Regions from separate parts of the Homo sapiens genome. Here regions 1, 2, 4, 5, 6 and 7 are each linked to region 3. Evidence: promoter capture Hi-C in 16 types of primary human blood cells and fetal thymus (Javierre and others, 2016). All regions are on one chromosome and are shown on one strand. Each heading gives the region's core, a stretch centred on a gene start or on the middle of the fragment in contact. The rest is flanking DNA. Distances are from core to core; before and after follow the strand shown. Region 1 overlaps ABHD2 (abhydrolase domain containing 2, acylglycerol lipase). Region 2 overlaps RLBP1 (retinaldehyde binding protein 1). Region 3 holds the start of MRPL46 (mitochondrial ribosomal protein L46). Region 4 overlaps ABHD2 (abhydrolase domain containing 2, acylglycerol lipase). Region 5 overlaps ABHD2 (abhydrolase domain containing 2, acylglycerol lipase). Region 6 overlaps POLG (DNA polymerase gamma, catalytic subunit). Region 7 overlaps FANCI (FA complementation group I).

What was found. The method cuts DNA at HindIII sites, captures the fragments that hold promoters and counts their contacts. A CHiCAGO score of 5 or more calls a contact.
Region 1: a fragment that was not itself captured here is called in contact with the fragment with the promoter of MRPL46 in region 3 in 3 of 17 cell types (total B cells, naive CD8 T cells and activated CD4 T cells); the score reaches 6.4 in total B cells.
Region 2: a contact is called between a fragment that was not itself captured here and the fragment with the promoter of MRPL46 in region 3, in 1 of 17 cell types (total CD4 T cells). The highest score is 5.0, in total CD4 T cells.
Region 4: a contact is called between a fragment that was not itself captured here and the fragment with the promoter of MRPL46 in region 3, in 7 of 17 cell types (naive CD8 T cells, naive B cells, naive CD4 T cells and 4 more). The highest score is 7.5, in naive CD8 T cells.
Region 5: a fragment that was not itself captured here is called in contact with the fragment with the promoter of MRPL46 in region 3 in 7 of 17 cell types (naive B cells, total B cells, naive CD4 T cells and 4 more); the score reaches 8.4 in naive B cells.
Region 6: a fragment that was not itself captured here is called in contact with the fragment with the promoter of MRPL46 in region 3 in 1 of 17 cell types (naive CD4 T cells); the score reaches 5.6 in naive CD4 T cells.
Region 7: a fragment that was not itself captured here is called in contact with the fragment with the promoter of MRPL46 in region 3 in 3 of 17 cell types (total CD8 T cells, non-activated CD4 T cells and total B cells); the score reaches 6.7 in total CD8 T cells.

The regions. Positions count from the first base shown.
Region 1 is chr15:89,107,172-89,111,119 of GRCh38, reverse strand. All of the region lies in intron 1 of ABHD2 (abhydrolase domain containing 2, acylglycerol lipase), which reads right to left. Among named protein-coding and RNA genes, the nearest start is that of ABHD2, 21 kb to the right of the region's middle. The HindIII fragment of the contact is 1,403 bases long and covers 1,892-3,294 here.
Region 2 is chr15:89,212,204-89,216,201 of GRCh38, reverse strand. RLBP1 (retinaldehyde binding protein 1) reads left to right here. Exons shown (of 9, transcript NM_000326.5): 6 at 964-1,142. Among named protein-coding and RNA genes, the nearest start is that of RLBP1, 7.4 kb to the left of the region's middle. The HindIII fragment of the contact is 1,706 bases long and covers 701-2,406 here.
Region 3 is chr15:88,465,065-88,468,941 of GRCh38, reverse strand. MRPL46 (mitochondrial ribosomal protein L46) reads left to right here and starts at 1,554. Exons shown (of 4, transcript NM_022163.4): 1 at 1,554-1,792; 2 at 3,169-3,355. The coding sequence starts at 1,565. It overlaps MRPS11 (mitochondrial ribosomal protein S11), which reads right to left and starts at 1,234. Exons shown (of 6, transcript NM_022839.5): 1 at 1,160-1,234; 2 at 918-1,034. The coding sequence starts at 1,224. RefSeq lists enhancers at 1,384-1,553, 2,020-3,219. The HindIII fragment of the contact is 6,788 bases long and covers 1-3,853 here.
Region 4 is chr15:89,147,997-89,151,771 of GRCh38, reverse strand. ABHD2 (abhydrolase domain containing 2, acylglycerol lipase) reads right to left here. Exons shown (of 11, transcript NM_152924.5): 4 at 1-95. Among named protein-coding and RNA genes, the nearest start is that of ABHD2, 61 kb to the right of the region's middle. The HindIII fragment of the contact is 176 bases long and covers 1,222-1,397 here.
Region 5 is chr15:89,168,177-89,171,723 of GRCh38, reverse strand. All of the region lies in intron 5 of ABHD2 (abhydrolase domain containing 2, acylglycerol lipase), which reads right to left. Among named protein-coding and RNA genes, the nearest start is that of RLBP1, 52 kb to the left of the region's middle. RefSeq lists an enhancer at 3,259-3,547. The HindIII fragment of the contact is 4,422 bases long and covers 83-3,547 here.
Region 6 is chr15:89,317,674-89,320,664 of GRCh38, reverse strand. It overlaps POLG (DNA polymerase gamma, catalytic subunit), which reads left to right. Exons shown (of 23, transcript NM_002693.3): 19 at 1,315-1,437; 20 at 1,566-1,734; 21 at 1,916-2,124. Among named protein-coding and RNA genes, the nearest start is that of MIR6766, 7.6 kb to the left of the region's middle. The HindIII fragment of the contact is 195 bases long and covers 1,644-1,838 here.
Region 7 is chr15:89,249,326-89,252,866 of GRCh38, reverse strand. All of the region lies in intron 2 of FANCI (FA complementation group I), which reads right to left. Among named protein-coding and RNA genes, the nearest start is that of FANCI, 7.1 kb to the right of the region's middle. The HindIII fragment of the contact is 521 bases long and covers 1,076-1,596 here.

The sequences.
Region 1 (3,948 bases), core at 1,344-3,843, 640 kb before region 3:
GATAAAGCTTTAATGCATGTGATTATGCTTTAATTAATTTATCTGAGCTTTCTGACTGTCAGGGGGAAAAGGGAAACCCAGTCAGACCTATGGTTTCCAAAATGGAAAGAGAGCTAACATATATTGTGCTCTTACGCCCAGTGGCATAAGAGAAACTCTGTGGAAACAGGGCTTATCTGGCACAGAATTATTTAAAAAAAATGTGGGACTTTATGTAAGGGGACCTTGAGTGATGTGACAGACAATGTCCTCCCACAACTTTTTTTAAATAGCAAATGCAGTAGAGAATTAATTTCCTCAACCCTCAAAAAATGCCAAGGTTTTAAAATTCAATTCAATTCAGGGAAGGCAATTCTATGAGAGATTTATAATTATTGTGGTCCAACTACACAGCCTCGATCCAAGGTTTCAACCTGAAGTCCTGAGGTACAGGTCAGTTCTGCATGTCCCTGGGGGTACTCCCTGGAGTTTCAGCAGGCTTAATTAAGTACCTGACTACCTCCTGTGCACCTAGCACTGTGAAGGTTGGCAGTTAAGTAAATTCTCATTTTAACCAGGGAGAAAAGAAATTTATGTTAAGGCTATCTGTACTTTAGAAGCTTAGATAAAAATCAGTCCAGAAAAAAAAAAATTAAGCAAGGAAGTCCTCATGGAGCAGCTAGATCTAGAACCCAGCCTTAGCGAATGAAGTACAGTTGTTCCTCCTTAACTGCAGGTTCAACCAATCAGATGAAAATTTTTGAAAAAAAAGACAATAAGGCCGGGTGCAGGGGACTCACGCCTGTAATCCTAGCACTTTGCAGGCCGAGGCGGGCGGATCACTTGAGACCAGGAGTTCAAGATGAGCCTGGCCAATATGGGGAGACCCCATCTCTACCAAAAATACAAAAAAATTAGCCAGGTATGGTGGCACGTGCCTGTAATCCCAGGCTGAGGCAGGAGAATCACTTGAACCTGAGAGGTGGAGGTTGCCACACTACCACACTCCAGCCTGGGCAACAGAGTGAGAGTCCGTCTTAAAAAATAAAAAAAAAGAAAATAAGAGAAAAGATAGTATAAAAAGAAAAATTTAAATAAAAGCAATACAGTATTTAAATTATTTACATCATTTACTTTGTAATAGGTATTATAAGTAATCTAGAGATGATTTAATGTATATAGGAGGATATGCATAGGTTATATGCAAATACTATGTCATTTTATATCAGACTTGATCATCTGTGGGTTTGGTATCTGCAGGGGAACTGGAACTATTTCCCCAAGGATATACAGGAACGACTGTATAAAATGTAGAAGCATGTGTAAGTATGAGTGTGTGCATGTACGTGCATATACATAGGTATTAAATGAGGAGATAAGTAATTTTAGAAGAAAAATTTTCACATTCACTTTATCTTGCTGCATTTTGTTTTATGGTATTCTTTTTTCCCCAAGTCTGACTTGTCACTATATATTAATATTCTGAACTTGTTCTAGATACAGCAAACTCTGATTCCATTGTATTATTTTGTGTGGCCCTCCCCACTTTCCAGACAGGTGAAATCCAGTTAAAATGAACATCAGGCAGCCTAGATAGGGAAAAGAAGTCACAGAGAACAGCTGGAGGGCTGGGTATGTCGCAGATGGAAAGGAAGCGTCTCCCTACCCCCACCCCAAACCCAGCTCCACCTTCATGATGGGCTGGGCTTCCTGTGTCCCTGTGGCAATCCCTTCTCTGTCGGCTAGCCCACACCTTCCCTGCCATTTTATGAATGGGATTTAGGTGCTGTAAATGGTAGTCAGAATTCCATTTATAGTCCGCATTAACAAAGGAAACCAAGGTGCTACCAAATGCCCAACATCTAGTCACCAAAGGAGCTCCCAGTGTTGCCCCTGGTCTCTAAGACAAGCTTGACTGGTATTTCCACCAGAGGTGAAGGCCTGAGCTGTGTCTCCCATGCCTCTTTCTGCTCTCCCCTGGCTAAAAGCATTATTTTCAGATGGAGGCACAGATAGAGTGAGAAACTGCCACTGCACTGGGAAAAGCTCCAGTCTGGGGGCTCTGAGACCTGGGTCCTAGTGTCTGCTCTGCCCTTTCCTGGCTGATGACCTTGAATCAAGGCACTTAATCTTTTTGGGCCCTAAAGGCCCCATCTGTAAAATGAGAAGGTTAGATTAGAAGTAGATGATGCCAAAGGTCTCTTTCAGCTAGAAATGTCTGAGATTCTAGGGACAGAATTGCGGTCCTCGGCTAAAGAGCACAGGAAAAAACTATCGCTGTACTTTGTAACAGAAAACGGCCATTTTCCAGCCTACTTCATAGATGATTACACAGTAAAATTCTTAAGAACTAACAACCCTCAGGGCCTTTGTTCTTTCTTCAAATAAATTAAACAGTTATATATTTTCTTTCAGCTGTGCCAATAATTTCATCATATTCATTCCACCTGCATGGGATCGTGATGCTTTCAGCCTTGGAACACCAATATTCACTGACAGGACACAACTTACAGTGCGGAAAGCACGAACAAACAGAGCAGAGAGATCCCAAACAAAGGAAACCCATTACCTGGTGTAGCAAGTTGAATAGGGACCCTCCCCACAAAATTCATGTCCATCTGAAACCAGTGAATGTGACGGTATTTGGAATTGGGTCTTTGCAAATGTAATCAAGTTAAGATGGGGTCGTACTCGTTGGAGGGAGTCCTAACCCCATGACTGGTGTCCTTGGAAGAAGTGAAATCTGGATACAAAGACACAGATACAGAGGGGAGGAGGCCACGTGAAGATGGAAGTGGAGACTGGAGCCACGTATCTACAGCAAGCAATGCCAAGGATGGCTGGCAACCATCAGAAGAGGAGACAAGCAGGGAACAGTCTTGCCTTCAGAGCCTAAGGAAGGAGCCAACCTTGTAAAACCTGTTTTCAAACTTCTAGCTTCTAGAATGGTGAGAGAATATGCCCAAATTACCTCTCATGACTCAGGAGTTCCACGCTCCTGTCCTTAGTGGCTGAAGGGACCGTTTGCCACTTCCTTCTGAAAGGACCCTTGTTACTCAGACACGCTCCCATCAATTCAGATGACAGCTAACTGACATGAACACCCACAGATGACTTCTTAACATAATACAAATTGCATTCTGTGAATAAATACTTATTGGCTTGGCTTCTTTGCCTCTGTGATTCAGCTATCAGAACCATCCTTTCCTTTCCTCTTAGCTATCAGCAAAGTGAGAGAGCTCAGAGGACACAGACAGCTGGGGGAGGGGGAGATCTCTCTTCCTTGCAACCCTCAAGGACCTAGCACAACAAGCTTTGATACTTATGGGTCCTAAGGCAAATACCTCTCAAGGAAAACCAAACCAAACCCCTAAAGGATTTCTCTGTTCCAATTCCATCTGGTTGAAGATGTAAATTTCATTTAGGGTCCAGTCCTGCAGTGACACAGCCAGTGCCAAATCCAGCCACAGTGTTTGTCCTGGGGCAAGTTCCTTAATCCCTCTGAACACCATCTGTAAACTGAACATGTTAATACATAAAGAGCATTTTAAAACAATGCCGGCATACAATACTACCGTATTTTTAATATTTTGGGGTACTACCGCAAAATATTCGCTATTACCATCTCCACTATTAAACTTTCCTCCATTTTGCCTCAGTAAACAACCTAAGTTGACAGATAGAAACGACCACAAAACATACTCCTTCCTAACTGACACACAAGTCTCATTAGCAATGAACTCACTAGCTGATTAACTGCTTGGGCCTCCTCCAATGAGTTTAAAATTAATTCCAGGACATACTCTTCTTGATTCTTCTAAAATGGAACCATATCTTCTAAAATGGAACCATGTTAGACTTAATAAATCACTGGATACTAAGTGGTGATCATCATGTCCCATAAACAGTTCCAAGATGCATTGTTCTTGTTTTCTGTGCTAAAATGCATCCTTGGCAGTGCACAGCTGG
Region 2 (3,998 bases), core at 304-2,803, 750 kb before region 3:
ATGGTAATTCAGGGCCATGCTGTGCCAAGAACTGTTTTAGGCCAAGGGATGCAGTGGAGACAAAACAGACAAGTTCCCTGCCCTGGTGGAACTCATATTCTAATGGTGGAAACAATACATCCAATAAATAAAGTAAAATTATATAGGGTTAAATAATGGTAAGGAATAAGGAAAGAAATTAAGGAGGTGGATATAAAGTCTTGAGGGGCTGAAGTTTTAGATAAAGTGGCCAGGGAAGTCCCAGTGCAAAGGGAATTTTGAAGAAAAACCCGAAGGAAATGAGATATCTGTGGGGAAGAGCAGCCAGGGCAGAGGCAACAGCAAAGACAAAGGCCAGGGGTTGGGAGGTGCCCAGAGTGTTCCAGAGCAGTGAGCAAGTTGATGTGGCAGTCTCTTGGCAGAGGTGCCCAGGTCCTCTAGGGGCTCAAATTTGGTGGTGCAGGCCACAGAGGTGGGGAACTGCTCAGGATGGGTAAGGATGGTGTTTGTGGACCGTAGAGGTGCTGCTGGAATCAGGAGCTCTGTGTCCTGCTTGGGGTTTGGATTTTACTTGGGAGCTTCTCCTCAGCCCTGTGCACACCTCACCACTCAGCTTATCCTGTGCCCAGCTGAAAAATCTGTGTCTTGTCCCCATGGGGAAGAAAATAACAAGTAATGATTATCCTCATATTTAAGACTATGCCTCATGTTTGCCCAAGCTTATGATGATGTTTACACCTTGAATCTCATTTGATTGCCACAACAATTTGGTGAGATAGGCCACTATCTAGACTATCTAGAATAGATAGGTCAATATCGAGATCCCATTTTTTGGAGAGGAAACATGGGGCTCGGATAGGTTGAGTAGCCAGCTCGGTCACACATAGGACCTGGCAGGAGGTCAGGTCTCTGAGTCCCACTAGGAGGGATGGGGTAGGGATGGGATGGCTCCCTGAGGGGGTTCCTCTGCTCTCCTTCCTCCAGGCTATGTGAATTTCCGGCTGCAGTACCCTGAGCTCTTTGACAGCCTGTCCCCAGAGGCTGTCCGCTGCACCATTGAAGCTGGCTACCCTGGTGTCCTCTCTAGTCGGGACAAGTATGGCCGAGTGGTCATGCTCTTCAACATTGAGAACTGGCAAAGTCAAGAAATCACCTTTGATGAGGTTAGTGGGGGCTCGCCTGGCTCCCACCCTGTGGGCTGGGTTCCCTCCCTCAACCCTGGCCTCTACTGGGCCCTCATTCCTGGTTCTCCAGGAGGCAAGGTCTGTAGAGGGGGAAAGGTGGGCAGCCACCTGCCACCTAGCCCTTTCCAGGCAGGGAGAGAATTCCTAGGATGTGCCAGGGCAGCTGGAAAACCCAGTAGCTTTGCAGGTGGAGCTTGATGGTCAATAATACATGGCTCTTCCTGGGTATCCCTGCCAAGTGCCAAGTGGGGGTAACAGCTGTGTGCCATGAGCTGGGGGCTGCCCTGCCACATGCTAAATGCTGAGAGCAACAGAGAGAACAGGGATTAGTGGACTATAGGCTGGAAGAGATTCTGGAAAGCACAGGTTCCAATCTATTTAGGAGCCCGAGTTCTTTGTGCTCGCAAAATTGTGTACGCAATTTTGCTTGTCTGAGCCGTTAAGGGGGCTGCCCCAAGTTGGGGAATTAGGGTTTGTCTTGGGAGAACTTTGGCATGCGCCACTGAGCCTGAAAAAGATTCCTTTAATTTAAAAAAAAAACTGCTACAAACTTATTTTATTTTATTTATTTATTTTTGAGATGGAGTCTCGCTCTGGTCACCCAGGCTGGAGTGCAGTGGCATGATCTTAGCTCACTGCAACCTCCGCCTCCTGGGTTCGAGCGATCCTCAAGCCTCAGCCTTCCAAGTAGCTGGGATTACAGACGCACGCCACCATGCCCAGCTAATGTTTGTATTTTTAGTAGAGACGGGGTTTCACCATGTTGGCCAGGCTGGTCTCAAACTCCTGAGCTCAAGTGATCCGCCCACCTCGGCCTCCCAAAGTGCTGGGATTACAGGCATAAGACACCGCACCTGGCCCAAACTAATTTTAGATAATGCTATCTAGTTGTGCCAACACAATTTATTAAAAAGTCCATCTTTTTTCAATGACTTGAAATGCCATCTTTATCATGTTTTATATTTTCGTATGTGCTTGGTCTATTTCTGGACTTTCTATTCTGTTCCATTGGTCTCTTTATCTATTCATACTCCAATATCATACTGTTTCGATGATAGAGATTTTGTGGCATGTTTAATCTGTTAGGGCTAGTTTTGTCCTTAGTGATCTGCTTTTTGGGGGGCTTTTCTAGCTACTTTTGCATGTTTATTTCCCCCTATGATCTTCAGAATTAATTTGTCTAGCTTTAGGAGAAATATTAGGAGTATGTTTTGGGGATAATATTAAACATAAATAACAAGCTTGGGGAGAGCTGGCTTCTTTCAGAATGTCACATTCCTGGCCAGTTGTCCTATCCACAAATGTGAGATGCCTTCTGTTTTCTTCAAGCCTACTTTTGAGTTTTCAGGAGTGTTTTAAAGATTTCTTCATAAGCTATGACTGTGCTACTGCACTTCATCTGGGGGGACAGAGAGAGACTCTGCTTCTGAAAAATAAAAAGGTTTTAAAAATTTTTTCCTCACAACGTTGTGCACATTTTTCATTAAATTTGTCTTAGGTATTAATTTTGTTGTCATTGCTAAAAATGGGGCTCTTTCTTCCATTATATCTTCTAGTTGGTTATTGTTTGTATAAATGAAGGTTATTGTTTTTGTTTTTTAATTGTATATCCCCCTATTTTACTGAACTCTTTTAAAATTTATGTTAGTTTTATAATGGATTCTCTGGGGTTTTCTAAGTATACTATAATACTATCTGTAAGTAGAGGAGATAGTTTTTCTTCTCCCTTTCCACTTCTTATGCCCCTGATTTTTTTTTTTTTAACAAATTGATTGCATTGGTTAGTACTTTCAATATAGAATTAAATGGTGGCAGAGATGGTGAAGTCTTTATCTAATTCCTGATCTTAGTAAGGATGCCTCTAGGGTTTTCCCATCAAATAAGACACTGGCTGTAGGACTGAAATGCACACCTGCCTATCTGTGTGTATTAAGGAAGAGACTTAAATATATGTTTTTTCTTATTACGTAAGTGATATCTACTCATTTTAGAAAATACAAAAAATTGGCTGGGCGCAGTGGCTCATGCCTGTAATCCCAGCACTTTGGGAGGCCAAGGTGGGTGGATTGCCTGAAGTCAGGAGTTCGAGTCCAGCCTGGCCAACATGGTGAAACCCTGTCTGTCTCTACTAAAAATACAAAAATTAGCCAGGCATGGTGGCAGGCACCTGTAATCCCAGCTACTTGGGAGACTGAGGCAGGGGAATCGCTTGAACCTGTGAGGCAGAGGTTGCAGTGAGCCAAGATCGCACCACTGCACTCCAGCCTGGGTGACAGAGCAAGACTCCATCTCAAAAAAAAAATTACAGACAAATTTAAAATCATTTGCAATTCTACTACCTAGAGAGCTCTACTATTGACATCCTTCCAATCTTTTCATACATGTATGCACGCACATACACACACACACACACGCGCACACACACACACATTTTTCTTTTTTTTTTTTTTTTTGAGACACAGTTTTGCTCTTGTCGCCTAGGTTGGAGAGCAGTGGCGTGATCTCGGCTCACTGCAACCTCTGCCTCTCAAGTTCAAGTGATTCTCCTGCCTCAGCCTCCCAAAGTAGCTGGGATTACAGGTGCCTGCCACCATGCTCAGCTGATTTTTTTGTATTTTTAGTTGAGATGGGGTTTCACCATGTTGGCCAGGCTGGTCTTGAATTCTTGACCTCAGGTGATCCACCTGCCTCGGCCTCCCAAAGTGCTGGGATTATAGGCGTGAGCCACCGCACCCAGCCCACACATTTTTCTTACAATAATGGGATTATATTCTACAATAATATATCATGCACATTTTCCTGTATTATTAGTCTTCTGTATTGTTTTTAATTGTT
Region 3 (3,877 bases), core at 305-2,804:
GCTCCCTGGGTTCATGCGATTCTTCTACTTCAGCCTCCTGAGTGGCTGGGATTACAGGTGCCAGACATCACGCCTGGCTAGTTTTTGTGCTTTTAGTGGAGACGGGGTTTCGCCATGTTGGCCAGGCTGGTCTCGATCTCCTGACCTCAAGTAATTCGCCCACCTTGGCCGCCTAAAGTGCTGGGATTAAAGGCATGAGCTACTGCACCCGGCCAGGAGTTAGACACTTATGATTTCATACTTCCAACCAATGCTTACCTCCATTATATTATTGAGCAGATTATGGTTAAAATGTTTGCATGTTTGTCTTCCCTCAAAGACTGTGAACTACTTGTGGGGAGGAATGATCTTTTGTATCTGTATTCACGGCACCTAGCATGGTGTCTCACTCATAGTAGATTCTTGGTAAATGTTTGTTAAATGGATGTGAAGTTAAGTGGATGTGTATACAGCATACAGAGGTGGTGGCACTGGTGGGAAGCAAGATGCCAGTTCCTAGGGCTGAGCACAAAACCCACCCTGGACCATCCGTAAGACGTGCAGGAACATCTGTTCCATCGCTAGCGCCCTCTACCTCCCCATTTTGTTTTGGAGGCAGGGAAGGTTATTGGTCTGAAAAGATCTCCATCTCAGAAGAAAAGAACGCTGATACATGTTATGGATATCTCACATTCACTCATTGATTTAACGAATGTTCACTGAACATTTACTCTGTACCACGGCTCATCTGATTCTCACAACCTCTCTCAGCATTATCCGCATTTTTAGATGAGAAGGCTGAGGCTCAGATTTATTTGCATAAGGTCCCACGGATAGCAAGTGACATAGCTGAAAATTCACTGGTTCTGACTCTGGAGGGTGTCGGGCAAGAGTCAGGGGTTGCGGGTCTCCAGAGGGCTGGTCCAAGTGGGGCTCACCTGAACTTGGTGTGGCTGGGAGCCGCGTTCTGTTCAACTTTCTGCTTGGCCGCAGCGTCTTGGAGCTGTCGAGCGCCTGTGCAGATGGTCCCGGCCGGCGTTCTGGCCACGACCCTGCTGGGAAGAAAAGCTCGGTGAGGGCCACGGCCTAACGGTCACTGGGGCCCGGGTGGCTCAAGGGACACGAGTAGGAGCATAGTCCTGGAGGTGGCGGTGGGCTCGAGGGGGCAGTCATTTGTTACCCGGCTGTCTGGGGCCAAGTCCAGGACCGCAGGAACCGCGACCCCGCGTTTCTCACAGCCTGCATGACTTGAATTGACCCCAGTCAGTTTCCGTCTGCAGCGACAGTCACAGCTGCGCCGGCGCCGGTACCATGAGTGCCTGTCGGGGAGGGGACAGAAGGGAAAGTCATCTACTCTTCATTAGGTCCACTGAATATTTTTATTTCCATTTAAATGCTCAATAAGACTTTCACTGTAGTTCACCAGGGGATTCTTTCCCTTTTTTAATGTTCTGAGATGGTGGGTCACCCCCTCCATATGCGAATGGTTCGTTCTAGCAGTTCCGGGACTGAGCTTTCCCCTAGTTTGCCGCTCCCGCGGCTGAGGGATCCCTGGGAGCCGCGGTGCATTGTGGGAGAACGAAAGATGGCGGCGCCCGTAAGGCGGACGCTGTTAGGGGTGGCGGGGGGTTGGCGGCGGTTCGAGAGGCTCTGGGCCGGCAGTCTAAGCTCTCGCAGCCTGGCTCTTGCAGCCGCACCCTCAAGCAACGGATCCCCATGGCGCTTGTTGGGCGCGTTGTGCCTGCAGCGGCCACCTGTAGTCTCCAAGCCGTTGACCCCATTGCAGGAAGAGATGGCGTCTCTACTGCAGCAGGTGGGACTGAGATGCAGGGTTCAGAGTGACGTTTATTCTGCGTGACTTTGAGCGAGTAATTTCACCTCTCTGAACTTAAGTATACGGTACTTATCCGCAGAATGGTACCTACCTTACTGACTTGGTTTGGTACATAGATGTTCAACAAAAAGTGGTTTCTTTTCATTGGCCGTGTTTATTGTCACCTTAGACAACTCTTTGGAGATACTCTACTTCTTGTTCATGCAACACAATAGGGATCCTGTGGTGAACAAGAATCGGTCCGTGTCACTAGGAGCTTACAAGTCTGGAGGGAGAAAGTCTTTGTGATGTGATGAATGTTAAGAAGGAAATACAAGAGGCGGTGGGCACATCTGTCAGATGCCTATGATAAGCCTACTCTGTTTTATCTCATGGGGCTATCTGTGTGAGGGGCAAGTGAGGAAGCATGGGCAAAAACAGTGTAGTGGCTGTGAAGGTGTGAGGTCGCTACAGAAAGTGTTTGAAGGGTGATATGTTTCCTCAGAATCCGAGATGTTTTTGTCTTGGTCTGTTGAGAACTATAAACTTCTCTTCTGTGCTTTTTGCTTGATTTATTCATTTACTCGCTCGCTTGACAAATATTTGTTACTCAACCTACAGATGTTCATTGTGCCCATACTATGCATCAGAGAGTATGTTAAGTGATAGAGATGCTGTAATGAATAAGGCAGAAGTAGCTCTGGTTCTCAGAGTACTTCAGTCTAGTTGAGTGAGGGGATCAGTCAGTAACCAAATAATCATACAACTAAATGCAGACCCTGATAAGTGTTGTTAAGGAAAACACAAGGCACTATAAGAGTGTTTAACAAATACATCACATTTTGATTTTATGGTGAGTGTCAAGGAATGCCTCAGACTTTCTGAATACAGGTTTTTCTCTTTATGAGAAATGTCTCTCTGAGACAGTCATATTTAAATTGAAATCAGAAAGATGAGTAGGACTCTCCCAGAAGAAAGAATGTGAGGAAAAACATTCTAGGAAGAAGGAACAACCTCTTGAAAGTCCCTGAACAGGAAAGTCCTTGGTGAGTGAGATTCTGATCAAAGACTGACATGACTGGATTGTGGTGAGTCAGCAGGCATTGCCCAACCCAGCTCTCTGTTTTTGTAGCACTCTTGACCCCCAGTGACATTGTAACATTTTTGGCAAATGTAACTCAAGCCCAAAGTTCAGAGGACCTTTTTTTCCCTCCATTTCCTTTCTGCATGGTGTTTTGACTGTGTATCTGGTTATGTTGGGTGATAAACTTCTGAGCTTGCCAAGTGTGCCATGTCTCTGTTTTATTCTTCCTGTTTTTTTTTTCCTTTTAATTTTGCCAGATTAAGGTAGTTTTTTGCCCTTTGAATTTTCCCAGATTGAGATAGAGAGAAGCCTGTATTCAGACCACGAGCTTCGTGCTCTGGATGAAAACCAGCGACTGGCAAAGAAGAAAGCTGACCTTCATGATGAAGAAGATGAACAGGATATATTGCTGGCGCAAGATTTGGAAGATATGTGGGAGCAGAAATTTCTACAGTTCAAACTTGGAGCTCGCATAACAGGTTGTGATCCTTTTAGGCCAGCCAGAAGGAAGGGAAAAGGGGTATTTGGATTCCCAAATAAAAGACAGTTGCTTGGCCCCTGCTTTGTGTTTTAAGTAACAAATAATTTCATATTCTTTTCTTTGTTGCTCACATCTACCATAATACGACTTAAAAAGTCTGTCTTATTTTCGGGTGAGAGGTAAGGGTATTGGAATAGCCTTTTCTCTCAGTTAAACTTTGTGAATGTTATCTGTGTTTAACTCCAAGTTTGAGACTGAGAGTGGGGCAAATGAAGCCTTTTTCCACTAATTCCTGTGTTTTATGTGAAATCCCTCTTAAAGCGGGAGATTGAGTTCTGTTTTCCTTGTTTCACAGATGAAGACTGAAGAACAGAGAAAGTAGGGGCTAGTTAAGTCAGTAATAGTATCAAAACCAATGAAGTAGTTGTGTTTGAATTAGTATGATCATTGTTTCTTTTTTGAAGACTCAAAATATGGTTTGCTGTTCAAAGAAGCTTACCTCTTGATTTCTTACCTTTTA
Region 4 (3,775 bases), core at 60-2,559, 680 kb before region 3:
GCCCATAAGGATGTGGCGACCTCACCCTTCCCATCTTCCCATACAAGGCTGTCTGGATGTGTCCACTTTTCCCCCAGATCAACGGTGGAATGTATCTAAAGAAAGGACAAGGGAGGTCAATTTTCTCTACATTCCTTGAGCAACGTTCTGAAAAATCTTTTAGCAAAACTCTTTCAACCTATTTTTGTTCCAGGGAAATTCTGCACACAAAGCATAAACATGAGGCTTTTATTACGTTACATCCGTGCCATGATTTACCGCCTTTCCCCATTTACTAATACACTCTGCATCAGATTAGCTTTAGAAATCAACCAGGACATATATATAAAGAGGATTTCAATTTAGGGTAACTGTTAAGTAATTCAACATGGCTTATTTCCATAATATAGAATAAAAAGAAAGCAAGTGATATATTTTGAACACATTCTAACTTGACAGGTTAGCTCATTATTAAAGGAGCTGATGTATATGAAATAGCATAGCGCCTACACTCACTAAAAGCTCACTTCTTCTTTCCCTAACGAGACAGGCCACAGCTGTAGTGGTTACTCCATTAGCCAAACCTGCTACTCTCAGTTAGTGCTGGGAAGGGCTGCAAATTCTTCTAAGAGCCTGTAAGTGCCTTGTGGGGTGAGGGCACTACTCTATGCTCCAGAGAATATGCTGTAAGGGCAGTGCAGTGTAAATATTTGTTGGATTGATTAAGGATAAAGGCTTGTTAGCCTACGCAAGGCATGAAGCCTCGCTAACAACGGTGCATTGTAAAAACACAGAGTGACTCTAGGCGTTGGTAGGAAATGCAAAAATCACAAATAGTTAATTACCAGGAAAAGAAGATGATCCAAGTTACAACTAAGAAATGATTATGGTTTACAACCACAGTACAAGGTGACTGCATTTACTGAAACCGCTGTTGGTTTCACTTCCATGGCTTTTAGCCCAAGCTTGATGGTTGTCCAGGATTTGTCTCCTATATAAACTGGAGTCGTATAATATAAAATGATAGTGACGTCAATCATTCCCCTCTGTATTATATGGCAGTGGTGAGTGTTTTATTAATAATTTACCTTAACCTACTTGCCTATCATTTCTCTCAGAACCAGATGATCCCCAAAACCCATCTTTGATTTACTCCTTGTATGTGTGTGTAATTAATCAAATCTACACAAAGTTAAGAGAAGTGAAGCTATCACCTTAAGCAAACCAGTTCCCAGACAAGCTTCCTTTTCGGGGGAGGGGAGGAGGGGAAAGAGTATTTTAAGACCTTAAGGACATGAAGCCACTTGCCAGCGTAACACCACAGGTGCAAATATCACTGCAAAAGCCATGGCATTTGGAAGGCAGGCGAAGGCATTTATAAGAGCTGAGTGGATTATGACAGTAACAAAAAGCAAGCTTATAAAAATGTCAATTGGACAACCAAACACTATACAAGATCTAGATACAGAACTTATAAAGGATTTCAGACTACCAAGTTAGATAATAAGTTTTGCATAGAGGAAGAGGACTATCCAAGAAATTAAGCTTTTGATCACTCCTGGAGGAAAGTTTAAAGAAAATTTTGTTTATAAATTAAAAGTGGAAATATGCTGAGCTTAAAAATATCAGAAGAATGAGTAAATTTCATATGCCTACCTTCTGATCATGTTTAGAATACAATATAATCTCAGAAAATAGAACAAAAGAATGAAGTAAAATTTCTTTTTGTCTAGTCACAGATTTCACATTTAATGATGACACATGTGACTGTCCTGATGCCACATTCCCAGTTTAGAGTCAGGTCCCCTCCTCAAAATCTTGGCAGCAGCCCCCCAAGCGGCCTCCAAGCCTCTAGTCTTGCTCTCACCACCTACTCCATCATCCACCCGCCAATGGAGGGGTGATCTCAACACACAAGCCTGGCCCCCACCCTCCACTGCATGGGTCCTCACTTGGCCTAGGAGGCCGGCTACACCCTGGTACTCGCTTAACTTCTTGCCTAAGCTCAAATAAACCTAAACTACCAGGCCCAACTCCAGCCAGAACAGGTACACGTGGTGTTGAACTACTTTTATCTGAGGAGTCTTTGCTCAAGCTGTCTCCTTTGACTGGAATGCTCTTTCACACCCAGCGTTTCTTTGGGCCACCTACTACTTGTCTTTCAAGACTCACTTCCAGTCAGGTTGCTGGGGGGGTTGCCCCTTCTCCATGCACAGCTCCGTCCTAACATCCAGGTGACTTGATTACTTTAGATGCTGTTTTCAAGCCAACCCCTCCTGCTGCTCATTCACCTCTAGCTCTATCCCCAGAGCACTGGACATACATTACACACCTGGGGGAGATTTGCTTCAATGAACAGAATATAGAGACACTTAGTAAATCTAAAAGGACAAATATATGTTTTTAAAATATACAAAAATATATTTAAAAATAATATGTGCCATAATAATGTGAATTCAGCTATTACATGATTGGCGTTAGGCGACTGTCCTCTTTCCAGCCTACCTAACACCCCATTCTCAGAGTGGGGTGCAGTAATTCTCAGTGTGAGTGTGTGTGTGTGTGTGTGTGTGTGTGTTAGGGATCAATTGCCTCACAATCACTTGGGACTTTCTCAGTTCAATGTAAGATCAATTATACACAGTGGAAGTCTCAAAAGGTTTAATTTTATGACAATACCTACTGATAAAACACTGTTTTTAATTAACTTCATAATAATACAACACCAGGGTTTACAAAATTGAATTTTTAGACTGCATTTACTATGGTGGGGTTCAATGTGTAGTTGTTTGTTTATATAACTTATCCACAGACCACAAGAAAAAAATTTAAAAACAAAAAACTGAATAGGTGCCCAGTCACATGGTTTAGGTCAGGAAGGAAATATGGACTAAAACAATAGAATATTTTGAAATTTATATAAACATATAAATACTGAAGAAATGCTGCTAAAATGGTACACGAAGGAATATGCTTTTTCTATCTATGTGGTAGTTCGAAAATGTAGCGGCCAATAATTCCACTTATTCCATTCTTCTGCCGGGAGCTAGATTCCCTCCTTGTGATCTGGACTGGCCTGTGGCTTCTCTGGGCTTACAGAAGGTGGCAGAAGGACTGCCATGCCAATTTAGGCCTGGCCCTTAGGAGATATGGCTGCTTTTGCACTCTCCTCCTTGTAAGCCTGATGAGAGGGCATACAGAAGGCACTGTGATGGAACTGAGAGGTATGTGCGTTTTACATTTTGTAGATACTGCCAAGTTGCCTTCTAAAAAAGATGGGTTCATTTACATTCCCACCAATAACGAAGGAAAGTACCTGTCTTCCTCACCCTCATTAATAATTGGCATTATTAATCTTTTACATTCTGGCCACTTTGATGGGCAAAAAAATGGGTATCTTGTTTCAACTTGTGTTTAAGGTTGACCCAATCTATGGTTGAAAAAAAGTTGCTTGTTTGAATTTGCATTTCGCTGATTCATGTTTACTAGTCATTTGTATTTCTCTTCTGTGAACTGTCTGTTGATATCCTTTGTCTATTTTTCTATTGATTTATAAGTATTGTTTTATTATCCCTACATTAAGCCATTATCTATCATATGTTACAAATGTTTTCTCCAATCTATTGTATATTTTAACTTTATTTTATGTAGTTTTTTTTTTTTTTTTTTTTTTTGAGACGGAGTCTCACTCTGTCACCTAGGCTGGAGTGCAGTGGAGCGATCTCGGCTCACTGCTACCTCTGCCTCCCGGGTCCAACAGATTCTCTTGCCTCAGCCTCCCTAGAAGCTCAGATTA
Region 5 (3,547 bases), core at 1,044-3,543, 700 kb before region 3:
ACCCCTTTTCAGACTCCCTTTCCTTTCTACTTGCAGTAAACAACCTTCACAGATGGGGGCGCTGCTTAGCCTTTCGGAAGCTTAGCCTGGTAGCAGTTTTCCAAACATTTCCTCAAAGCAAGGTTTCCACAGGTAGCACATCGCCGTTCAACACAACCAGGCGCTTCCTGTAGATCCACTAATACCTAACAAACAGAAAATTTAAATGCCTTTAAATCCATGTAACTGCTTTCTGGTAATCTTTCTTGTAAAGAGTGAATTGGAAAAGCTGCACGGAGGTTATATATTACTGCAAGAATGATGCTCTAGCTCAGTGGTTCTCAGAGTGTGGCCCCTGAGCAAGCAGCATCAGCATTGCCTGGGAACTGGTTCAAATGCACATTCTTGGACCTCACCCCAAACCCACGGAATCAGAAACTCAAGGGGCTCAATGAGCTTGCAGGACCTCACCTCCAGAGATTCTGATTCCACTGGTCTGGGTGGGCTGAGAAGTTGCTTTTCTAACAAGTTCTCAGGTGATGCTGACGTTGTTGGTCCAGAGACCACACTTTGAGAACCATTGTCCTAGTTGACAGAAAAGCTGGATGAAATCTTTTCTTTTTTCTTTTGGAGATGGAGTTTTGCTCGTTGCCCAGGCTGGAGTGCAGTGGTGCGATCTTGACTCACTGCAACCTCTGCCTCCCGGGTTCAAACGATTCTCCTGCCTCAGCCTCGTGAGTAGCTGGGATTACAGGCGCCCACCACCACGCCGGGCTAATTTTTGTATTTTTAGTAGAGGCGGGGCTTCACCATGTTGGCCAGGCTGGTCTTGAACTCCTGACCTTGTGATCCGCCCCCCTCGGCCTCCCAAAGTGCTGGGATTACAGGTGTGAGCCACCGCGCCCGGCCTCTTTTGTCTTTTAAAAGTGCAGCTCGAAAAGATGCTTCATGTCACTCATTGTTAAATAGATGCAAGTTAAAATGACACTTAGAAATCATTTTCCACTGCCCATGTTAGAAAAGATGAAGTTTGCCAATACCCAGGACTGGAAGAAGTGTGGGTAACAGGCCCTCTGGTCCATCCACTGTTGAGGGAGTACACATTGGTATAGGCCTTGGAAGGCAATGTGGTAACATCTGTTCATGTTTTTTAAAGTACAAACCTTTGGTCTAGTAATTCTGCCTTTGGGGACTTTATACTGCATATGTATGTAAACATGTACATGCAAGAATGTTCACTGCAGCATTTTGGTGTTTGTAGCAGCAAAGGTTTGGAAACAACCTAAATTTCCATCAGTAGAGGACTGGTTAAATGAAGGACTACACTGTGGTGAAAAAGGATGAATCTGGCCGGGCGCGGTGGCTGATGCTTGTAATCCCAGCACTTTGGGAGGCTGAGGCGGGTGGATCATTTGAGTTCAGGAGTTCAAGACCAGCCTGGCCAACATGGTGAAACCCTGTCTCTGCTAAAAATACAAAAATTATCCAGGCAGTGGTGACACGTGCCTGTAGTCCCAGCTACTTGGGAGGCTGAGGTGGGAGAATCGCTTGAGCCTGGGAAGGGAGGTTGCAGTGAGCCAAGATTGTGCCACTACACTCCAGTCTGAGTGACAGAGTGAGACCCCGTCTCCAAAAAAAAAAAAAAAAAAAAAAAAAAAAAAAAAGAATCTGATCTGACATGGAATGGCTCTGAGCCATCTTAAGGGATAAAAACAAGGGGTGAAACAGTGGGGCTGGCACCCTCTCCCGTGTTTGCTTGGGTTTTAAGGGATTACATACACACATATCTGACTGAATATTCACTGGGAAATTGCAGCAGATATTGATTTCCTGGGGAGAAAAACTGGGGGTCTAGGGTAGGAAAAAGATCTAGTTTCACTCATTGTATGTAGCCTTTGGCACAGTTTGACTGTTTTTCTCATGTGTATTTATTTCTTTTTAAATATGAATCTAACCAGTTTTAAAATCTAGCAAAAAAATAAGGGAAAAAAAGATGTTTACATTTCCTCAGGCCAGTTTCGACAATGCTAAAGACACCCAACATATCACTCATGCTGGAGCAATGGTTTGTGCTGGGGACATTATTTGCCTGCCTAAGAAATAGTACTGAGAAACTTATTTTAAATTGTTATTAAATATTTACTTCTCCACCGCTTCCTAAGGTTTCTGCCTAATTTTGTCATCTCTTAGCTAACTATATCTTTATGTTTGGTTCCAACATTGAATGAGACTCTATTAGATTATAAACTCCATGAAGCAAAGATATTCTTGCTCTTGTTCACCACTGTATCTGTGAGGCCAGATACTTGGTGGGCACTCAATCAGTGTTACCTAAATGAATGGATGAAACAACAGATGTACAGTGTTCAGCCTCTCTTCTAGGAACTTAAACACAGACAAGGAAGCAGATTTAAAGACATGAAATGACTTGTCCACCCTCACATAATGAGTAGGGCCATGTCTACTCATGACCGTGTCTACTCAAAGTCCAACGCTAGACTTTGGACCATGTCAACCCCAAAGCCCAAGCCCCTTGCCTTATATCACAAATCTACTTAGGTAATAGTACTCCAGAGATTTATGCTTCAATTATTAAACATCTTACTCCCCCCAACCATTTGATTCCTTTTATTATTTTTATTCTTATTTTTTTGAGACGGTCTCGCTCTGTCTCCCTAGGCTGGAGTACAGTGGCATGATCATGGCTCACTGCAGCCTTGACCTCCCCAAGCTCAAGACGTCCTTCCACCTTAGCCTCTTGAGTAGCTGGGACTATAGGCACATGCCACCAAACCCAGCTAATTTCTGATTTTTTGTAGAGATGGGCGAACTTGCCTGGGAGGTTCCACTATGTTGCCCAGGCTGGTCTCGAACTTCTGAGCTCAAGAGGTCTGCCCACCTTGGCTTCCTTTCCCAAAGTGCTGAGATTACAGGTGTGAGCCACTGCACCCAGCTTTGATTCCTTTTAGACCCATCTATCATTACTCAGGTTTGAGACTAATTATTTGAGACCTAGAGCAGATGTTCAGATGTCATTGGGACAGTTACAAAACTCAGATTTGCTACACTACTGAGGAGCAATTACAGCTAATTGTGTAGGCACTTTGGGAGCCTCAATTTAATTAAATCCAAACACATCTGATCTGGATAAAGGGCCAACCCTGCCTGATGTCAGACAGACTGCTGGATGTTCTGTGAAGAGATGCCACCTCTCCCATGCAAGGGAAGGGCAAAGACATGGTGCCCAGCTCCAGGATCAGCCTTCTGGAAGGTCCTCCTGGGACCTCCCCTGATGTCAGTTACCAAACACCTTTAGTGCCTGGGGCCTCTCCCTGGCCTGTTATTACTAACAGCTACATTAATCTGTTTTTAAATGAGGCTCTATGTATTTAATTCTTATGGGATTAGCACTAGGTAACTATATAATCTTGCTGCCGCTTTTTAAAGTAAGATGAAATCTGAAACACTAGCTGGGCCTTAGACAGATGAGTATTGCACGGCCATTTTGGAAAGGCAACTTGCTGGGAACAGAAAAGACCCCTCACCTTTTTCTCAAGCCCCTACACCT
Region 6 (2,991 bases), core at 492-2,991, 850 kb before region 3:
CTCTCACCTAGCCCCTCTCCTTCCACACCTGTGTAACCTGGTTCCAGGATGATTTGTCCTATTGTGACATTTGGTTGCTTTATAGTCAGCCTTAAACAGTTTTTCCTCATGGGAGTAAAGCTATACTTTTGGTATACTGTTACCAAGTGGTAGCATCTTGACAATTCTGATTATGCTGCATAATCAATAATACAGGGGTTGCAAACTCAGATGCCTACAGGGAATGAGAGCAAATGGAGTGGGTGGAAGACAGGAGTTGACAGGAGGGCGCTGTGGCAAACTGGAGCATGTAGGCTGATGTTGATACTGGAGAAAGCATTACCAGGCCTCCAGGTTACTTAGCCTAGCTCTCCAATTTGTTTCCTCTGATCGTACTGCATACTGTGTGCTCAGGGCCTTAGCAGACTCTCTGCAGGGTTCCAAAAACATTGAGGGAAGAGAGGTACAACTTCCTGAGGTACAGTACACTGTCCACATTTAATTAGCTGGCTCATTGTGGAAACTTCACTTTCTCGTCAACAACTAAAAGTTAAGTATGTGATAAATGATATAGTGGTTGATGACTATAAATGCAGGGAAGGGGAGCTGAGTATCGTCCAGTGGATAAAGTGAGGTCGGGTAAGGCTCATACCGTGAGCAGCGTGTGCTGGTGGAGGCGAGAAAGGTGGTGGGGCTTTAGTTGTGGACACCTTTGAAAGTGTCACAGGAGTTTGGACTGTGGGTGCAGGTGGTGGGGAAGCCATTTATGCGAGTGACGTGTCTCTGGAGCCTTCAGGCGACAAGCCTTGTGAGGTCTGCAGGTTAGATGGAAGCTGGGAGTTGTCTAGGGTTGTGGCAGTTGAGAGGGGTAAGCCAGGCCTGGCTGTTGTGTTTTCTGCTTCAACAAATGCCCCCTCCCCTTCAGGGAGTAGCCTATTCTTACCCCTATCCCCCCAAATCTAGAGTGATGGCCCTTGCTGCCTCCTGAATAAAAGGCCCGTGTTGGTCATTGGGCAATTCAGTGTCTAAAGAAACAGGACAGTAGGAATAGTGGTGCCTCCTGTGCTGGAGTCTTTGTCCTTTATTGGGCTACCATGGGGTGGCCCAGGCTTTGGGGCTACAAAAGCCTGGGCTGCATCTCTTTCTAGCTCCATGATCCTAGGCAAGGCACTTAGCCTCTCTGAGCCGTTTCTTCCTCTGAATAAAAGCCTTTAGGGGACTGGCATGATGTCAGTGTTTTTAAAAGTTGAAGTGATATGTGAACATTCCTTGCCAAGGCACTAGCGTGGCACAGGAAGCACTCCCGTGGAATGATGGTGATAACACTGCCCCCAGGTATCGGCTGTCGGATGAGGGCGAGTGGCTGGTGAGGGAGTTGAACCTCCCAGTGGACAGGACTGAGGGTGGCTGGATTTCCCTGCAGGATCTGCGCAAGGTCCAGAGAGAAACTGCAAGGAAGTAAGAACCTTCTTTGTGTTAAGGATGGAGGGAGGGGTCTGGGCTTGCCCCAGAAGAGCTTGGATGCTTTGTTTTTTAGCTTTGAGATGCTGAAAGACAAAGTCTGCCCTCTGTTTCTGGTCCCTTAGGTCACAGTGGAAGAAGTGGGAGGTGGTTGCTGAACGGGCATGGAAGGGGGGCACAGAGTCAGAAATGTTCAATAAGCTTGAGAGCATTGCTACGTCTGACATACCACGTACCCCGGTGCTGGGCTGCTGCATCAGCCGAGCCCTGGAGCCCTCGGCTGTCCAGGAAGAGGTATCTTGCTACCTTTGGAGCATGGGCAGAGGGGCCCCAGGGAGGGCAGGGCAGAGCTCCCTGTGGACCTTACCAATGTTTGTAGGTAGGGCCAGAGTGAAGCTTCTCTTGGGGCTTCTACCCTGGAGTTAATTGGTATGTAGCATAGCCCCTTTCACCTCTGCCCACCTTCCCTTCCCAGTTTATGACCAGCCGTGTGAATTGGGTGGTACAGAGCTCTGCTGTTGACTACTTACACCTCATGCTTGTGGCCATGAAGTGGCTGTTTGAAGAGTTTGCCATAGATGGGCGCTTCTGCATCAGCATCCATGACGAGGTTCGCTACCTGGTGCGGGAGGAGGACCGCTACCGCGCTGCCCTGGCCTTGCAGATCACCAACCTCTTGACCAGGTATGCGGGGCCCATGGCCTCTAGCCTGGCCATGTGCTCCTATGTGGGGCTTTGGGTGAGCGTTCCTTGGGCCAGACTGGTCAGTTTTGACTTTTCATCCCCCTAGAAGTGAATGTTTCAGCTTATTTATTTATTTCTAATTTTTAAAAAGTTGTAGAAGTCCTAAAAAGACTAGCCTCAATTCGTAAAAAAAGAGTTATTGGGTTTGAAAATGTGAAATACCAAGACTGATCATTGAGGGAAGCAGTGAGGTTAGGGGAATTGTTCCGAAGGGTGGTACTCACGCTTTTCTATTTGGAAAATCAAATGACAGAAGCCTTTTCTCATTTCATAGAAAATTGAGATGTTTGTTTTTCTTTCTCCCATAAATGTTTTCTTTCTTAAGTAAGTGCCAAAAGTTTGTTATTTGACTGCTAACAGAAAACACTGTTAATGGGGACACTCAAATGTGATTTTTAAAAATATCTTATATATTTTATATATTGAGTTGTATTTTCTTGTAGTAAAATTCCTAGTTCATATGGATGAATTAAATATTACCGTTCCATGTTGATCTGCCACTCAGAACCAGTTTGGGAACCATGATCTATCCTGATTATTGGGTAAATAACAGATGTTTACAATATTCAACATTGTTCCCATTGCCCTCTTAATCATCATCTCCGGGAGGTTATGCTTAACAAAGCTAAAAGTCCTCATTTATGCTTCAAACTCTGGCCCAATTGGAAGTGATTTCGTATATTAATTAATAAAGTGTACCAAACTGGGAAAAAAAAAAAAAGTATGTTGAGTCCATAATTGCATTTCAGTATCTCAGTGGGAGGTTAGGCTGCTGGATGGAAAACAGTGCTGGACCTTCACCTTTCT
Region 7 (3,541 bases), core at 87-2,586, 780 kb before region 3:
GTTGAGACTCCCCAATCAAGAACAGGGGATATCTTCTTAGTTTTCTACTTTGTCCTTCAGAAGTGTTTCATAGTTTTTTTTCGCATGGGTTTTGGACATTTCTCAGGTTTATTCCTGTTTTAACTTTTCTGTTGCTATTGTAAATGGGGCCCAGGCTGGAGTACAGTGGCGTGATCTCAGCTCACTGCAACTTCCACCTCCCGGGTTCAAGCAATTCTCCTGCCTCAGCCTCCTGAGTAGCTGAGACTACAGGCGTGCACCACCACGCCCAGCTAATTTTTCTATTTTTAGTAGAGTTGAGGTTTCACCATGTTGGCCAGGCTAGTTTAGAACTCCTCACCTCAGGTGATCCGCCTGCCTTGGCCTCCCAAAGTGCTGGGATTACAGGCGTGAGCTAACTGGCTATTATGTATGAATGCTACTGATTTTTGCATATTAATTTTATATTCTGCTACCTTGATGAATTCGTTTATAGATGGTTTTATCACAGATTCTCCAGGGTTTTCCAGGTATACTATCATGCCATCTACAAAGAGAGACGTTTTATATTTTCTTTTTTTTTTTTTTAGATGGAATCTCACTTTGTTTACCCAGGTTGAAGTGCAATGGTGCAATCTGGGCTCACTGCAACCTCCACCTCCCAGGTTCAAGTGATTCTTCTGCCTCAGCCTCCCGAGTAGCTGGGATTACAGGCACACACCACCACGCCCAGCTAATTTTTATATTTTTAGTAGAGAAGGGGTTTCACCATGTTGGCCAGGCTGGTTTCGAACTCCTGACCTCAAGTGATCTGCCCACCTTGGCCTCCCAAAGCGTTGGGATTATGGGTGTGAGCCACTGCACTCAGCCTTTATTTTTCCATTATTATGCCTGTGATTGTTTTCTCTAGGTTAAATGCATAGGCTAGCCAATCAGAACATTATATAGTAATGGAGACAGTAGGCATCATTGCTTTGTTCCCGGCCTTAGAGGAAATGTCTCTATGGTTTCCCACTAAGATGCTGACTCTAGAATTTAGATATATACATTTTATGATGTAAAGGAAACAGCCACCCATTCTGATTTTTCTCAAGCTTTTATTAGGAATGAGTGTTGAATTTTGTCAAAGGCTTTCTCTGATCCATGAAGATAATCGTATAATCTTTATAGTAATATACTTTCAAATACTGAACCAACCTTGTATTCCTGCTATTAAATCCCACTTGATCATGGTGTACTTTTTTTAAATGTGGTGTTGCAATCTGTCCCCTAATATTTAAGACTTTTATATCAATATTCGTAAGTTACATTAGTCTATATCCTCTTTTTTCTATGCTATCTTTATGAGGTTTAAGGTTATACCTGATAAAGATAGCATAAAAAAATCAATGTTATATTTGTTTAATTCAATGTTATACTTGCTTCATTCAAAGAACTTGGAAGTTTTCCTTTATTATTTATGCTCTAAAACAATTTATGTAGCATTAGGACTATCTACCTGATCTCTAAAGGTTTGACAGAAGTTTCCTGCCAATCTATCTGGGCCTGGTGTTTTTGTACGAAGTAGTTCCTTCATAACTTTCTCTTTTCTTCTATGGAAACTGGTCTGCTTAAGCTTTCCATCTCAAATTGGCTCAATTTTATTAAACTGTACGTGCCTAAGAAATTATCCATTTCCTCTAGGTTTTCAAATTTATTTGCACAGGAATCTACTGTAGTCTCACAGTATTTTTTGAGATTTTCTCTGTATTAACAGTATTTCTCCCTTGTCATTTCTCATTTTGTGCATGTTTTTACTCCACTGTTTTGATTATTATATTAATTAATGGTGTTTTTTTCCCCCACAAAGAACCAAGATTTTGATTAATTTGATCCACTATTTTTCTGTTCTCTACTTTATTAATTTCCACTTTTATCTTTAGTAGTTTCTTGTGTTTTTTTGTTGTTGTTTACTTTCTCTTTTTTCTAGGTTTTTGAGTTGGGAATTTATTTATTTTCATTATTTCATTTGTATTGATTTCATTATTTCATTTGTTAAACACTTGTTTTTAACATTATTCCATGGATTTTTAACATGTAGTATTTTTGTTATCTGTAATTATTCTTCAAAAATCCTGTAATTTGTTTGTATCTCTTTTCCTCCAAGAGTTATTTAGAAGGTATTTTTTTATTTTTATATATATATATATTTTTATTATACTTTAAGTTCTAGGGTACATGTGCACAACATGCAGGTTTGTTACATATGCGTACATGTGCCATGTTGGTGTGCTGCACCCATTAACTCGTCATTTACATTAGGTGTATCTCCTAATGCTATCCCTCCCCCCTCCCCTCACTCCACAACAGGCCCCGGTGTGTGATGTTCCCATTCCCGTGTCCAAGTGTTCTCACTGTTCAATTCCCACCTATGAGTGAGAACATGTGGGGTTTGGTTTTTTTGTCCTTGCGATAGTTTGCTGAGAATGATGGCTTCCAGCTTCATCCATGTCCCTACAAAGGACATGAACTCATCATTTTTTATGGCTGCATAGTATTCCATGGTGTAGATGTGCCACATTTTCTTAATCCAGTCTATCATTGTTGGACACTTGGGTTGGTTCCAAGTCTTTGCTATTGTGAATAGTGCCGCAATAAACATACGTGTGAATGTGTCTTTATAGCAGCATGATTTACAGTCCTTTGGGTATATACCCAGTAATGGGATCACTGGGTCAAATGGTATTTCTAGTTCTAGATCCCTGAGAAATCGCCACACTGTCTTCCACAATGGTTGAATAGAAGGTATTTTAATTTCCAAGTAAAAGTGTCTTTGCTTTTTGACTTTTAGTTTCGGTTTTCATTTCCAGTTTTATTGCATTGTGATCACAGAGAATAGTTTGTAATAATTCTACCTTATGGGACCTACCCATGTTTTCTTTGTGCTCTAGTATATGACATGTGATTAATTTTTATGAACATTCTATGTGTTTAAGAAGATAATATATTCTTATCAAAGTTCTCTGCATATATTTTAAATATTCTTTATATTTTCCACCTCTTTACAATCTGTGCTTTATTTAGTTATCCTCAGCTCTGTATTCCACTTTACTAATTTTCTCTTTAGCAATGTTTTGTCTACTGTTAAACCACCTACTGAGGTTTTCATTTCAAGAAGTTGTCTTTCATTGTTTTCTAAATCCATCCCTTATTTTGTGAGTTCTATTCCTTCATTTACATCTTCAAATATTTTAAATACTAGGTCAGGCAGAGTGGCTCACACGTGTAATCCCGGCACTGTGGGAGGCTGAGGTGGGTGGATTGCTTGAGCTCAGGAGTTCAAGACCAGCCTGGAAAGCATGGCGAAACCCCATCTCTGCTAAAAATACAAAAATTAGTCGGACATGGTGGCACATGCTTGTACTCCCAGCTACTCAGGAGGCTGAGGTGGGAGGATCGCATGAGCCCAGGAGGTTGAGGCTGCAGTGTGCCGAGATCGCCCCACTGCACTCCAGCCTGTGCAAGGGTGAGATCCCACCTTTAAATAAATAAAGTTAAATACTGTATTAAGTATTTGTGTTAA